Regions from separate parts of the Homo sapiens genome. Here regions 1 and 2 are each linked to region 3. The links are contacts of gene promoters, found by promoter capture Hi-C in human tissues and cell types (Jung and others, 2019). All regions are on one chromosome and are shown on one strand. The core of a region is centred on a gene start or on the middle of the fragment in contact, and the rest is flanking DNA. Distances in the headings are between cores, read along the strand shown.

Region 1 (3,898 bases), core at 1,082-3,581, 200 kb after region 3:
TTTTTTTTGAGACAAGGTCTCACTCTGTCGTCCAGGCTGAGTGCAGTGGGGCAGTCGTTGCTCACTGTAGTCTCAATTTCCCAGGCTCAAGCAGCAATCTTCCCACCTCAGTCTCTCAAGTAGCTGGGGACAACAGGTGCACGCCACCACACTCAGCTAATTTCTTTCTTTCTTTCTTTTTTTTCCCAAGACAGAGTCTCGCACTGTCCCCCAGGCTGGAGTGCAGTGCTGCAATCTCAGCTCACTGCAACCTCCGCCTCCTGGGTTCAAGCGATTCTTCTGCCTCAGCCTCCTGAGTAGCTGGGACTACAGGCACACCACCACACCCAGCTAATTTTTGTATTTTTAGTAGAGACGGGGTTTCACAATGTTGGCCAGGATGGTCTCGATCTCTTGACCTTGTGATCTGCCCGCCTCGGTTTCCCAAAGTGCTGGGATTACAAGCATGAGCCATCGCATCTGGCCTATATTTTATATTATATATATATAATTTATGTAGATACGTGTTTTGTTTTCATTTCTGTGGGTAATTTGGAAATCCTCTCCCTTAACCCCTTAAAGAAGGCCTTTAGGTTCTCTAGTTAAAGGGTTCTAAGCTTCACATCCAAAAATCAAGTTTCCAGGCACTCAGAAGACAATTTCCAAATAAACCTTTTTTTCCTTTTTTTTTTTTTTTGAGACGTAGTCTCGCTCTGTTGCCCAGGCTGGAGTGCAGTGGCGTGATCTCGGCTCACGGCAGCCTCCGCGTCCCTGGTTCAAGCAATTCTCCTGCCTCAGCCTCCCAAGTAGCTGGGATTACAGGTATGCACCACCACACCCGGCTAATTTTTATATTTTTAGTAAAGATGGGGTTTCATCATGTTGGCCAAGTTGGTCTCGAACTCCTGGCCTCAGGTGATTTGCCCACCTCGGCCTCCCAAAGTGTTGGGATCACAGGCATGAGCCACCAAGCCGGGCGGAAACTTTTTTTATTGTAGAGATGAGGTCTCATTATATTGTCCAGGCTGCTCTCGAACTCCTAGCCTCAAGTAATCCTCCCACCTAGGCCTCCCAAAGTGCTGGGATTACAGGCATAAGCCACCGCACCGGTCCCCAAAGACTTTTGAAAAGTGTGGGCTCATTAGGAGAACTAATCCAGAAGGAAAAGAGATGGGAGTGAGTGCTTTAAATGGAAGAAGAAAATAATCTGCGGAGGGAAGGGAAAGTTAGAGAGGGCACCAGGCTTTTGATGGCTTATGGGACAAGTAGGGACCTAAGGCTCCACTTGCATATAGCACACCAGGATGTGGAGAACGTCGTAGGCGACTGTCCACTATGTACCTTGCCTTTGAGAGTAGTGGCAAGGGTCTCTTTGAGCAAGTCTGGAGTGGTAGAAGAAGCCATCCTAATGATGCAACCAACGTGGATTAAGGATCTGGTCTCTACCTCACTTTTTGAAGGAAGAAACACTTAATTGGCAATAATGACGGCGAAACAAAACAAACACAATTCAGAAAAAGCAGTAAAATATGTAAAAAGAGCTAAAATGCTGCTTAAGATTTCCCGTACCAACAATGTCAACCGTTTTAGAACCGACTGGAATATATGTAATACTGGAAATATATATACTGGAAACAACTTCTTGTGTTCCCTGATGTCTGGGACCCTTTTCTTTGCTAGACTTCAGATCTCTGATCTGAACCATCCCTCTTAGTTCAAGTACTCCAATCGCCTTCAGTGTTTCCACCAAGCCGTCCTTCCTCAATTTCTCCCTCCAGGTTTCCCTTCCCCAACTTTCCCCCTGCATCAGACTCTCCCTCAGCCTTCCTTTCTCCCTGTGCAGTCTGTCTCACTCCTGTCTTCCTCCCCAGGCGGTCTCAATTCTCTCTCCCTCCCCTTTCCGTGACCCTCTCGGCAGTCTTTTACTTCCTTACTTCGGTGACCGCCCCCCACCCCACTCCCCACAGCCTCCCTCCACTGCTCAGCCGTTGGAGAGGGCGTGGCCCCGCGAGTAACAGGTCTCCCGCCCCACACTCCGCGGGCCCGCGCGCAGACAAAGACATTCCACAGCTCCCGCCCCCTCCACGCCAGAAAGGGGAGGAGACACGTGTTCCGCTAGCGCCGAGTCACGTGGAAAACGAAACGAACGGAGCCCACTGCCTCCCGCGCATGCGCATCAAGCTCTGGCCTGGCGGGAGCGGAGGGAAAGCCAGAGTCGGGAGGCGACTTCTCGGACGCCGCGGCGGTGCGCAGGCGCCGTGGCCGGACTGGGGACTTTGTTCTCCGCGGAGAAACCCAAGGGCGGTGCCGGTGGCTGGCTGCGCACGCGCGCCGCCTCATTTCCGGTGCTCTCTCTCGCTGGGTCGCTCGGGTCGGCTTCGGTCGCTACCGCTCCCGCTCTGCCACCCCCGCCAACCGCCGCTCGGGCCTCCGTCGCTGCCGCGTCGCTTTCTCGCTCCTTGGATCGCACATCCTCCCAGATGCAGCGCCGGGACGACCCCGCCGCGCGCATGAGCCGGTCTTCGGGCCGTAGCGGCTCCATGGACCCCTCCGGTGCCCACCCCTCGGTGCGTCAGACGCCGTCTCGGCAGCCGCCGCTGCCTCACCGGTCCCGGGGAGGCGGAGGGGGATCCCGCGGGGGCGCCCGGGCCTCGCCCGCCACGCAGCCGCCACCGCTGCTGCCGCCCTCGGCCACGGGTCCCGACGCGACAGTGGGCGGGCCAGCGCCGACCCCGCTGCTGCCCCCCTCGGCCACAGCCTCGGTCAAGATGGAGCCAGAGAACAAGTACCTGCCCGAACTCATGGCCGAGAAGGACTCGCTCGACCCGTCCTTCACTCACGCCATGCAGCTGCTGACGGCAGGTAAGGGGGCCTCCCGTGTCCCTCTGGGTCGCCCGGCCATCCCGGGCATGAGTGGCCCTGGCTTTGTTCCTCTCGCTTCCCGCCCCCTCGGGACCGAGGCAGTCGGGAGTTCCGGTCTCATCCTCATTTTTGGGAGCCTGGATTCCACATTCCCACCTCAGCCCGGAGTGCGTGGGAGAATTTCTAGGCTGCAGTGGAGGCCCGAAGGCGACTTTGCGATCCCCTAGCGCTAATGTCTTGATGGATAGTGCTGAGCTCCCCGCCCCTTTCCCGACTCTTCCCTCCTCCCTCCTCTTGCGGCTGCCGGGCGCGCAGATTCTTCCAGAAATGAACCTTCATTTCCCCCTTTCCCTGAAGGGAAACCCTTTTTGATCGCGGGTGGCGATGAGCGCCTCGACCGAGGTGTAGGAGGTGAAGACAGCCAGAGCGGGGAGGGACCGTGGGAGGAAGGGCCGAGGTGAGGTGGGGTGAGGCTGGAATGCCCTGTCCAGTGCCTTGCTGTCGCTGGGGCCGAGCCGGACTTAGCGGTAACCGCAGCTTAAGTTGCTGGGAGGAAGGAGCGATTTATGTGGATCGGAGCTTGAGGTTTCCGAATCAGATTTCCGACTAAGGCTGATAAAATAAGAATTGCTACTGAGCCATTTTACACCGTGTGTTCACTGTCGTTGAAGGAGTGAAGTAACCCTAGAGACAGTGAAATGGGACGATAGGGACTCCCGCGTAGTTCACATGACGTTTCCCAACGAGATGGACAGAAATTGAGAGAAGTTGCATGATGCTTGTACTGAAAGGCTTGGCCTTTTTGTTGCTGTTTTTTACATTTTTGATTCAGTAGTGAAATAGATTAGAAATGAGAGTCTTTGTTCTGTAGGTTAGCGCTCTTTTCCTCATCAGCACTGGCCAATCACCTAGTCGCTCTGATTTTTCCCTAAAGCTGTCTGACTTTCGCTTCTAGTTAAAATATTATTTTAATATTTTTTATGATACCTAAATTTTACTAAGCAAGTAAAAATTCACATCCTTCAACACTGAATGAGTAGTTGGACTCTTTGGCAAG
Region 2 (4,055 bases), core at 151-2,650, 230 kb after region 3:
ATATTTCTTATACTTAGGAGGTCCTTCATAGGGATAATTGTGGTATAGAAGAAAGGATGTGGAGTTTGACTCCCTGGTTTGTGTAGTTGGGGGCTGTGACAACAGTGAGCTTTCCTGTTAATTGAAGCCATTAAGCAACTAACTGGCTGATTTTTTCTCTGCTCTGAGGTGTTAGGATTAGGATGACACTGAGGAGAAAGGCCTAACTAGGTAAGCCCTACGCATATAGAACCTTTCACAGTGAAATTTGGCTTCTTGGAATTTCTTTTTCTTCCAAGCCTGCCTCTCAGCCTGTGAGAGATCTGGAAGCTTTAAGAGAGGGGCATATGTACTGAACAAGATTCTGGGCACCTGGCAAGTCCTACGTTTGATGTTGGTCACATGAATGGCTAGGAAATTTAGCGTGGGGAATCCCTGAATGCAGAGAATTTAGTCTCAACTCTTCCTAGGGTAGTCTGAAGAAGAAAAATGGATTAGAAGTTTGGGGAAACCTTTCATTTGGACTGTGAACTGTGCTTGGAAAGGCAGGTTCTGTTTGTGGACCTAGGCCTGCTGGTGTTCTGCCTGTTCTGGACATGTAGCTTCGCCCATTGATCCAAGTGTTTTCTGTAAAATTCTATCACTCACTACCTGTGAACTTTATTTATTTATTTTAAGGTGGAGTCTCACTCTGTTGCCCAGGCTGGAGTGCAGTGGTGTGATTTCAGCTTACTGCGACCTCCACCTCCCGGGTTCAAGCGATTCCCCTGCCTCAGCCTCCGGAGTAGCTGGGATTATAGGCACACACCACCACGCCTGGATAATTTTTGTATTTTTAGTAGAGATGTGGTTTCACCATGTTGGCCAGGCTAGTCTTGAACTCCTGGCTTCAAGTGATCCGCCCACCTCAGCCTCCCAAAGTGCTAGGATCACAGGCGTGAGCCACTGTACCCGGCCAGCCTGTGAACTTTTATTACAATTCTGTAAGCTTTAGAGACAGGCAAGATTGGGTATCTGTCCTGGCTCTGCTTCATGTGAGCCTTTGTCACCTTAGTCAGAAACAAAACCCTTTCAGTGCCTCATTTATCATCAAATGAAGTTGATGATAATACCTGACATTTATCACTGTATGCATCATAATATCCTAACAGAGTTAGTAAGTATCTCATTTGGTCCCTTTCTACCTTTGTTTCTGTTTTGAGGAAAAATTCACATAGCATAAAATTTACAATTTTAAAGTGTACAATGCAGTAGTTTTTAGTATATTTATACTGTGCAACCATTTCCACTATTTAATTCCAGAATATTTCCATCACTCTAAAAACAAATCTTATATCTGCTAATAGTCACTCCCAACTCCCTTCTCTCCCCAGCTGTTGGCAGCCACTACTCTTTCTGTGGGTTTGCCTATTCTGAACATTCCATATAAATGGAATCATATAATATATGCTTTTTGGAATTGGCTTCTTTGACTTTGCATAGTGTTTGGTTCATCCAGGTTATAGCATGTAACATAGTACTTCATACTAGTCATAGGAAACATTACTTCCAAAAGCAGCCCATTTCATTAGAGATGGCTCTAAGTATTTTATCTCTCATTTTGAATGAGACCTGTACCTCAGTAATTTAAACTGAATCTGCTTTGGACCTCTGAAGCAACATCCTTTCAGGTATTTGAAGATCATTTTCATTACTGTGTCTTTCCCTTCTCTAAAAATTTTCTTGGCTGCGCATGGCAGCTCATGCCTGTAATCCCAACACCTGGGGAGGCTGAGTTGGGAGGATCACTTGAGGCCAGGAGTTCAAGACAAGCCGGGACAACATAGCAGACTCTGTCTCTACAAAAAGTTAGCTGGGCATTAGCTGGGCATGATGGCTTGCACCTCTTATCCTAGCTACTCAGGAGGCAGGGGAAGGAGGATCACTTGAGTCGAGGAGTTCAAGGTTACAGTATGCTATGATCACAACACTGTACTCCAGCCCGGGTAGAAAGTTTTTAAAATACTATTGGTCCCAATAAAATACATTTGCTGCATGCCAGATGTGGCCTTTAGCTTACCAGTTTGCAGCCTGTGGTTAGCTTCTGTTAGTATAAATTAAAGGTCATGTTAGCATTTTTAAGTGATTCTTTTTGGACAGACATAACTGTCCTAGTGGCAAAGAAGTCTAGAGTTTTGGCGGAATTTTAAAATAACAACTTTATTGAGATATAATTCACATACCATACTGTTCTCTCACTTAAAGTGTATAATTCAGTGGTTTTTAGTATATACAGAGTTGTTCAGTCATCACTAGGGCCCATTTAAAATGTCTTTATCATTCCAAAAAGAAACCCCATGCCTTTTATCTGTCTTCCACCAATCTATTTATTCCCTCCAGCCGTAGGCTACTACTCTGCTTTCTGTCTCTAAAGATGACAAGGGTTTAGCCTCCAGAAGGCTAAGTCCAAGGGTTTAGCCAGTCACAGAAGACCACTTTCTGTATGATTTCATACAAATGAAATTATACAATAAGTGGTCTTCTGTGACTGGCTTCCTTTTTGTTTTTTTTTTGTTTTTTTGGTTTTTTTTTGAGACGGGGTGTTGCTCTGTCGCTCAGGTTGGAGTGCAGTGGTGCGATCTCAGCTCACTGCAACTGCAACCTCCGCCTCCCAGGTTCAAGCGATTCTCCTGCCTTCCTGAGTAGCTGGGATTATAGGCACGCGCCTCCATGCCTGGCTAATTTTTGTATTTTTGGTAGAGGTGGGGTTTCACCGTGTTGGCCAGGCTGGTCTCGAACTCGTGACTTCAGGTGATCCGCCTACCTTGGCCTTCCAAAGTTTGGGATTACAGACGTGAGCCATCACGCTCAGCTGACTGGCCTCCTTTCACTTCGGATGTTTTCAAGGTTCATCCATGTTGTAGCATGTATCCCTACTTTGTTCTTTTTTTTTTTTTTACTGTTAAATGCGATTTCACTGTATGCATATACTACGTTTCATTTATTCATTGATCCATTGACAGGCATTTGGATTATTTCTACTTTTTGGCTATTATGAATAATACTGCTTTGAATATTTGTATATAAGTTTTTGTGTGGACATGTTTTCAGTTTCTTGGGTATATACCTAGAAGAATTTCTGGGTTCTGGGTCATACGGTGACTCTGTTTATTTTTTTATTTTTTATTTTTTTTTTTTTGAGACAGAGTCTCACTCTGTCGCCCAGGCTGGAGTGCAGTGGCACGATCTCAGCTCACTGCAACCTCCGCCTCCTGGGTTCAAGTGATTCTCCTGCCTCAGCCTCCCAAGCAGCTGGGAATATAGGCACGTGCCACCACACCCGGCTAATTCTTTGTATTTTTAGTAGAGACGGGGTTTCACCGTGTTAGCCAGGATGGTCTCGATCTCCTGACCTCATGATCCACCTGCCTCAGCCTCCCAAAGTGCTGGGATTACAGGCATGAGCCACCACGCCCGGCCTGTTTAATTTTTTTAGGAACTGCCAAATTGTTTTCTGCAGAGAGCCTGTACCATTCCTACCAGCAACATATGAGGGTTCCAAATGCTCCATATCCTCACCAACATTTACTTTATTATAGCTATCTTTAGTGGGTGTGAAGTGGTACCTCACTGTGGTTTTGATTTGCATTTCCCTAATGACTAATGTCATTGAGCATATTTTCATGTGCTTGTTAGCCAATTATATATCTTCTGTGGAAAAATGTCTATCTAAATACTTTGCCCACTTTTAAATGGGATAATTTGTCTTTTTATTAGCGAGTTGTAAGTTCTTTATATATTCTGGACGCTAAACTCTTGTCAGATGTATGATTTGCAAATATTTTCTCCCATTCAGTGGGTTGTCCTTTTACTTTCTTTAAATCACCAAAATTTTCCATTTTGTTGAAGTCCAGTTTATCTGTTTTTTTCTTTTTTGTCATAGGTAATAAACTATTGTCTCATTCAAGGTCAGGATTGTACCTGTTTGTTTCTTTCTCAGTTTTTTAGTTTTAGTTCTTTTTGTTTGTTTGTTTGTTTGTTTGTTTTTTGGAGACAGAGTCTGACTCTGTCCCCCAGGCTGGAGTGCAGTGGTATGA
Region 3 (4,119 bases), core at 810-3,309:
GCCTCCTGGGCTGGGTTCCTCTGGCCTGTCCTGGTGGGAGTTGTCTGAGCTTCTGTCTGTGCCCCGGTCTTGGGCACAGGGCACTGGACCTTTCTTCAGGTTCTTAGTGCCCTTGGATCTTCTCTGCTCCATGAATGGGCCTGAGCAGGCCCTGCTGGCTTCAGTATCCAGGGAGGAGCTGAGGCCGCCCAAGGGCTCCCGGGAGCTGGCACAGGTGTCAGCGGGGGCAGCGAGTCCTTGCTCCAGCCTTCCCCTGGAAGCTGGCTGAGCCTTGGCCTCCAGCTCCTCCTGGTCCTGTGCTGGAGCCTGGCCTTCATCGCTGCCAGTCCGCACGACACACACAGCTTCTTGCTGCTCTGCAGAGGCCTGTGCTGACGCCCCCAGGCACAGTGCTGCGCTCTGTGGAGGAGCCTGTGCAGCTGAACTGAGGGACTCCCCTCCACTGGGCACTGGGAACCCGACAGGGCCACAGGGGCTGCCTGGCTGGGGCCCATCCCCTGTAGCGGGCAAATATCCAAATTTCTCAGTCCCTGAGGCACATCCTGCCCCACTTCCACCTGGCTCTCCAGGCCCAGACCCAGTGTCTTTTGGAGAGGGAGGTCTGCAAGGGCCTCCCAAGGACTCCAGGTCAGCAACTTGGGGAGGGTCTCCCACAGACAGGAGGTTGTCCCCACGAGGGCTCTGATCAAGCCACAGGAAGTCACCAGCCCCTTCCTCACACTCTGAATGAGCCCCTTGCCTCCTCCATTTCTTTCTTACCCTCACAGGGACTGGGTCTGGTGAGGATGTCAGGGGCCTTCCAGGGGGCTCCTCTTTGCTGAGTGTGGGGCTTCTTCTGTCACACCCTGGAGAACTCATTCCACCGTCTCTGGCCTCCCTGGGCCTGAGGCAGCTCACCTCCTCCACTCCTGCAAGCCTCTCCCTGCAGGCCAGAGCTCTCTCTGGGAGGCCAGCAGACCTGCTACAAAGTTTCCTGGGGCAACTGTCATCTAAGATGTCACACAGAGAAACCTGGAGCCTCTTGGAGGTCAGAGCTCTCCCCTGAGTAGGCACCGAGGGCAGCTGCATGTGGAGCCCAGGAGCCAGCATCGAGCCCCGGCTCTGTACCACAGCTAGCAGCTCCAAGACCCCTGGCCGGACCTCAGCAGCACCTGCAGCCCGGGAGCTGCCACCTCGAAGGGCCTCCTTCCTGGGGATCTTCCTTCTGCTGCCAGCCCTGACTCCGGGCCCAGAGCTTGCTCCCGGCCCATCTGGTGACAGGCCTGGCATGGAGCTGGCTCCTTCCATGTTCTGTAAAAGCTCACAGTTGTGTTGGGGACTGAGCACAGGGTCTCCTGTGCTGGGGCCTTCTACGTCCCCCGCCTGGGACATGTCTGTCCACCTACCTGGGCCAAAAGCACAACACGGGCCCTGTGTGGAGACAGAAAGAGGAGACTTTGTCTTGGAGAGTCCGACCTGTCAGCCCGTTCAGTGGGAACTGGGAGGAGCCCCTCTTCCAGCCAGCTCTCCCAGACCCTTCCACTCCTGAGGCCTAGGGGTGAGCACTCCAGGGAGGGGAGCACCCAGCAGGAGCTGGTGTCCTGGGTGAGGGTGGAGAGGCCTGCCTCCAAACAGGGCCGAGCTACAGTGGCCTCCAGGGTCTTCTTGTCTCTGAGAGTTCACACATTCGCTTAAATGGGACCTAATAAGATACCATTTATTTATGACTTATGTGCTTATTTCATTTCATACTGGCAGCCACAGGTGAGGACACTGAGATTCTGAGATGTTAAGACACTCACCCAAGGAAGCACAGGAAGTGGAAGGGCCAGGAGTCTCTCTCCCAGTTCTCACACTGCGCAAGGAGCAGATACTGAACGGGGTTCGTGCCCATAACCCTTCTCGTCTCTCTCCCATCGGTCCCGTTCTGAAAGGCGCCCCACCCAGGTTCCCAAGCCTTACTGGGACAGTCCCCCAGCATCCAAGAAATCCGGGCCCCATCGGTCGCGTCGCTCTCACCTGGGCTTCCCTGAGTTTTCCCTCCTGGGGTTCCACCCACTAGCTGAAAAGGAGCTGAGATCACGTGATGCGGGGGAGGGAGGCCCTTGCTGAGGGATAGGGGCGGAGTCCCTGATGATGAGCAAAAGGCTGCTCCCCAGGCGTGCTGGCGTTCCTGCCCCGGCAGAGGGCGCCCTCTTCCTCCTGAGGGCTTCCTGGAGGAGGTGCCAATCCTGGCTCCCAAGCAGAGGTAGGTGGGTGCATGGGGCAGCGAGGGGCCTTGGCTGCCTGCCTGAGAGTTTAACTTGATCCTACCGCAATAGTCCCTGAGCCAGTAGGACAATGTCAGAATTACCTAGATTTTTTGCCTAATTTTATTTTATTTTATTTTTAAACTTTTATTTTAGGGTCAGAGGTCCATATGCAGGTTTTTAATATAGGTAAACTTGTGTCACGGGGGTTGTTGTACAGATTATTTCGTCACCCAGTTATCAAGCCTAGTACCCAATATTTATTTTTTCTTATCTTCTACTGCCTCCTACCCTCCACCCTCAAGCAGGCCCCAGTGTCTGTTGTTAACCTCTTTCTGTCCATGTGTTCTCACCATTTAGCTCCCACTTATAAGTGAGAACATGCAATATTTGGTTTTTCCGTTCCTGCATTAGTTTGCTAAGGATAATGGCCTCCAGCTCCATCCACGTTCCTGCAAAGGACGTGATCTCATTCTTTTTTATGGCTGCATAGTATTCCATTGTGTATATGTACCACATTTTCTTTAGCCAATCTGCCATTGATGGGCATTTAGGTTGATTCCATGTCTTTGCTATTGTGAATAGTGCTTGCCTAATTTAAAAAGAAAATCTCAAATATAATTAATGTAGATGGAAATGCAGAATCAATTCCAATAGAAGGTTAGAAATAAAAAGTTTAAAGCTATCTCTCATTTCCCAATACCCCAACTCCTGGAAACAACTGTGTTTTGTTTTTTGTTTTTTACCATGTTTGTCATCATGTTAATTTTTTAAATTTCATAACTGTAAATAATATACTCATGCCTCTATTACTTGATTTATTAATTTTAACTGTGTCTGTTGTATCTGTTGACTTCCTGCTGTGGTGATTTTATTAACCACCCTTTCCCCCTTTCTCTTCCGCTTTTCATATATATATATATATATATATTTTTTTTTTTTTTTTGAAACAGCGTCTCGCTCTGTCGCCCACGCTGGAGTGCAGTGGCACAGTCTCAGCTCACTACAACCTCTGCCTCCCAGGGTCAAGTGATTCTCCTACCTCACCCTCCCGAGTAGCTGGGACTACAGGCACGTGCCACCATGCCCTGCTAATTTTTGTATTTTTCGTGGAGACAGGGTTTCACCATGCTGGCCAAGCTGGTCTCAAACTCCTGACCTCGTGTTCCACCCACCTCAGCCTCCCAAATTGCTGGGATTACAGGCGTTAGCCACCGTGCCTGGCCCTCTTTTTTATATTTATATTTTAAATTTTACTATTGGTTTCTATTATCACTTTGAATACTATTCTTAAATGTCTGTTTCTTCTGTATATTGTATCTCTTGACTCTTCTCTGTGTGAAATGGATAATTTCCCTTGATGTCCCCTCCCTGCTTCTGCCGTTATCCATGAACTAAGCTTTTATTTTTGTATCGCTGAGGTTTATAGCATTTACATTCTATTCGGTAAAGATAATTCAGTTTACCGTTGTTTACCTGTAGATTGATTCTTAACACTGAAAGCCAAATGACATTTATAATGTTATGATTATGTAAATACTTTTACTGCAGAAACAGTGGTGTTTGGCTTTTTTTTTTTTTTTTTTTTTTTTTGAGATAGGGTCTGGCTCTGTCGCTCAGGCTGAGTTGTGGTAGTGTAATCATAGCTCACTGCAGCTTTGACCTCCCAGGCTCAAGTGATATTCCCCTCTCAGCCTCCTGAGTCGCTGGTACTACAGGCATGCACCGCCATGCCCAGCTAATTTTTTTTTTATTTTTGGTGGAGACGAGGTCTCACTATGTGGCCCAGACTGGTCTCGAACTCCTGAGCTCAAGCGATCCTCCCATCTTGGCCTGGGATTTCAGGCGTGAGCCACTGCACCCGGCCAGAACCAGAGATTTGATAAGTCTG

Evidence for each region. The method cuts DNA at HindIII sites, captures the fragments that hold promoters and counts their contacts. A contact is called where the count stands out against the background at its distance.
Region 1: the fragment with the promoter of KHDRBS1 here is called in contact with the fragment with the promoter of SPOCD1 in region 3 in 6 of the 25 tissues and cell types used here (IMR-90 fibroblasts, hippocampus, mesenchymal stem cells and 3 more).
Region 2: a contact is called between a fragment that was not itself captured here and the fragment with the promoter of SPOCD1 in region 3, in 1 of the 25 tissues and cell types used here (liver).

What each region holds. Positions count from the first base shown.
Region 1 is chr1:32,011,537-32,015,434 of GRCh38, forward strand. KHDRBS1 (KH RNA binding domain containing, signal transduction associated 1) reads left to right here and starts at 2,332. Exons shown (of 9, transcript NM_006559.3): 1 at 2,332-2,841. The coding sequence starts at 2,460. RefSeq lists silencers at 2,541-2,750, 3,231-3,340 and an enhancer at 2,567-3,137. The HindIII fragment of the contact is 12,423 bases long and covers 1-3,898 here.
Region 2 is chr1:32,046,523-32,050,577 of GRCh38, forward strand. It overlaps a transcript of KHDRBS1 not described here. Among named protein-coding and RNA genes, the nearest start is that of TMEM39B, 24 kb to the right of the region's middle. The HindIII fragment of the contact is 3,894 bases long and covers 1-3,347 here.
Region 3 is chr1:31,813,963-31,818,081 of GRCh38, forward strand. SPOCD1 (SPOC domain containing 1) reads right to left here and starts at 2,060. Exons shown (of 16, transcript NM_144569.7): 1 at 1,999-2,060; 2 at 1-1,410. The coding sequence starts at 1,371. The HindIII fragment of the contact is 15,941 bases long and covers 1-4,119 here.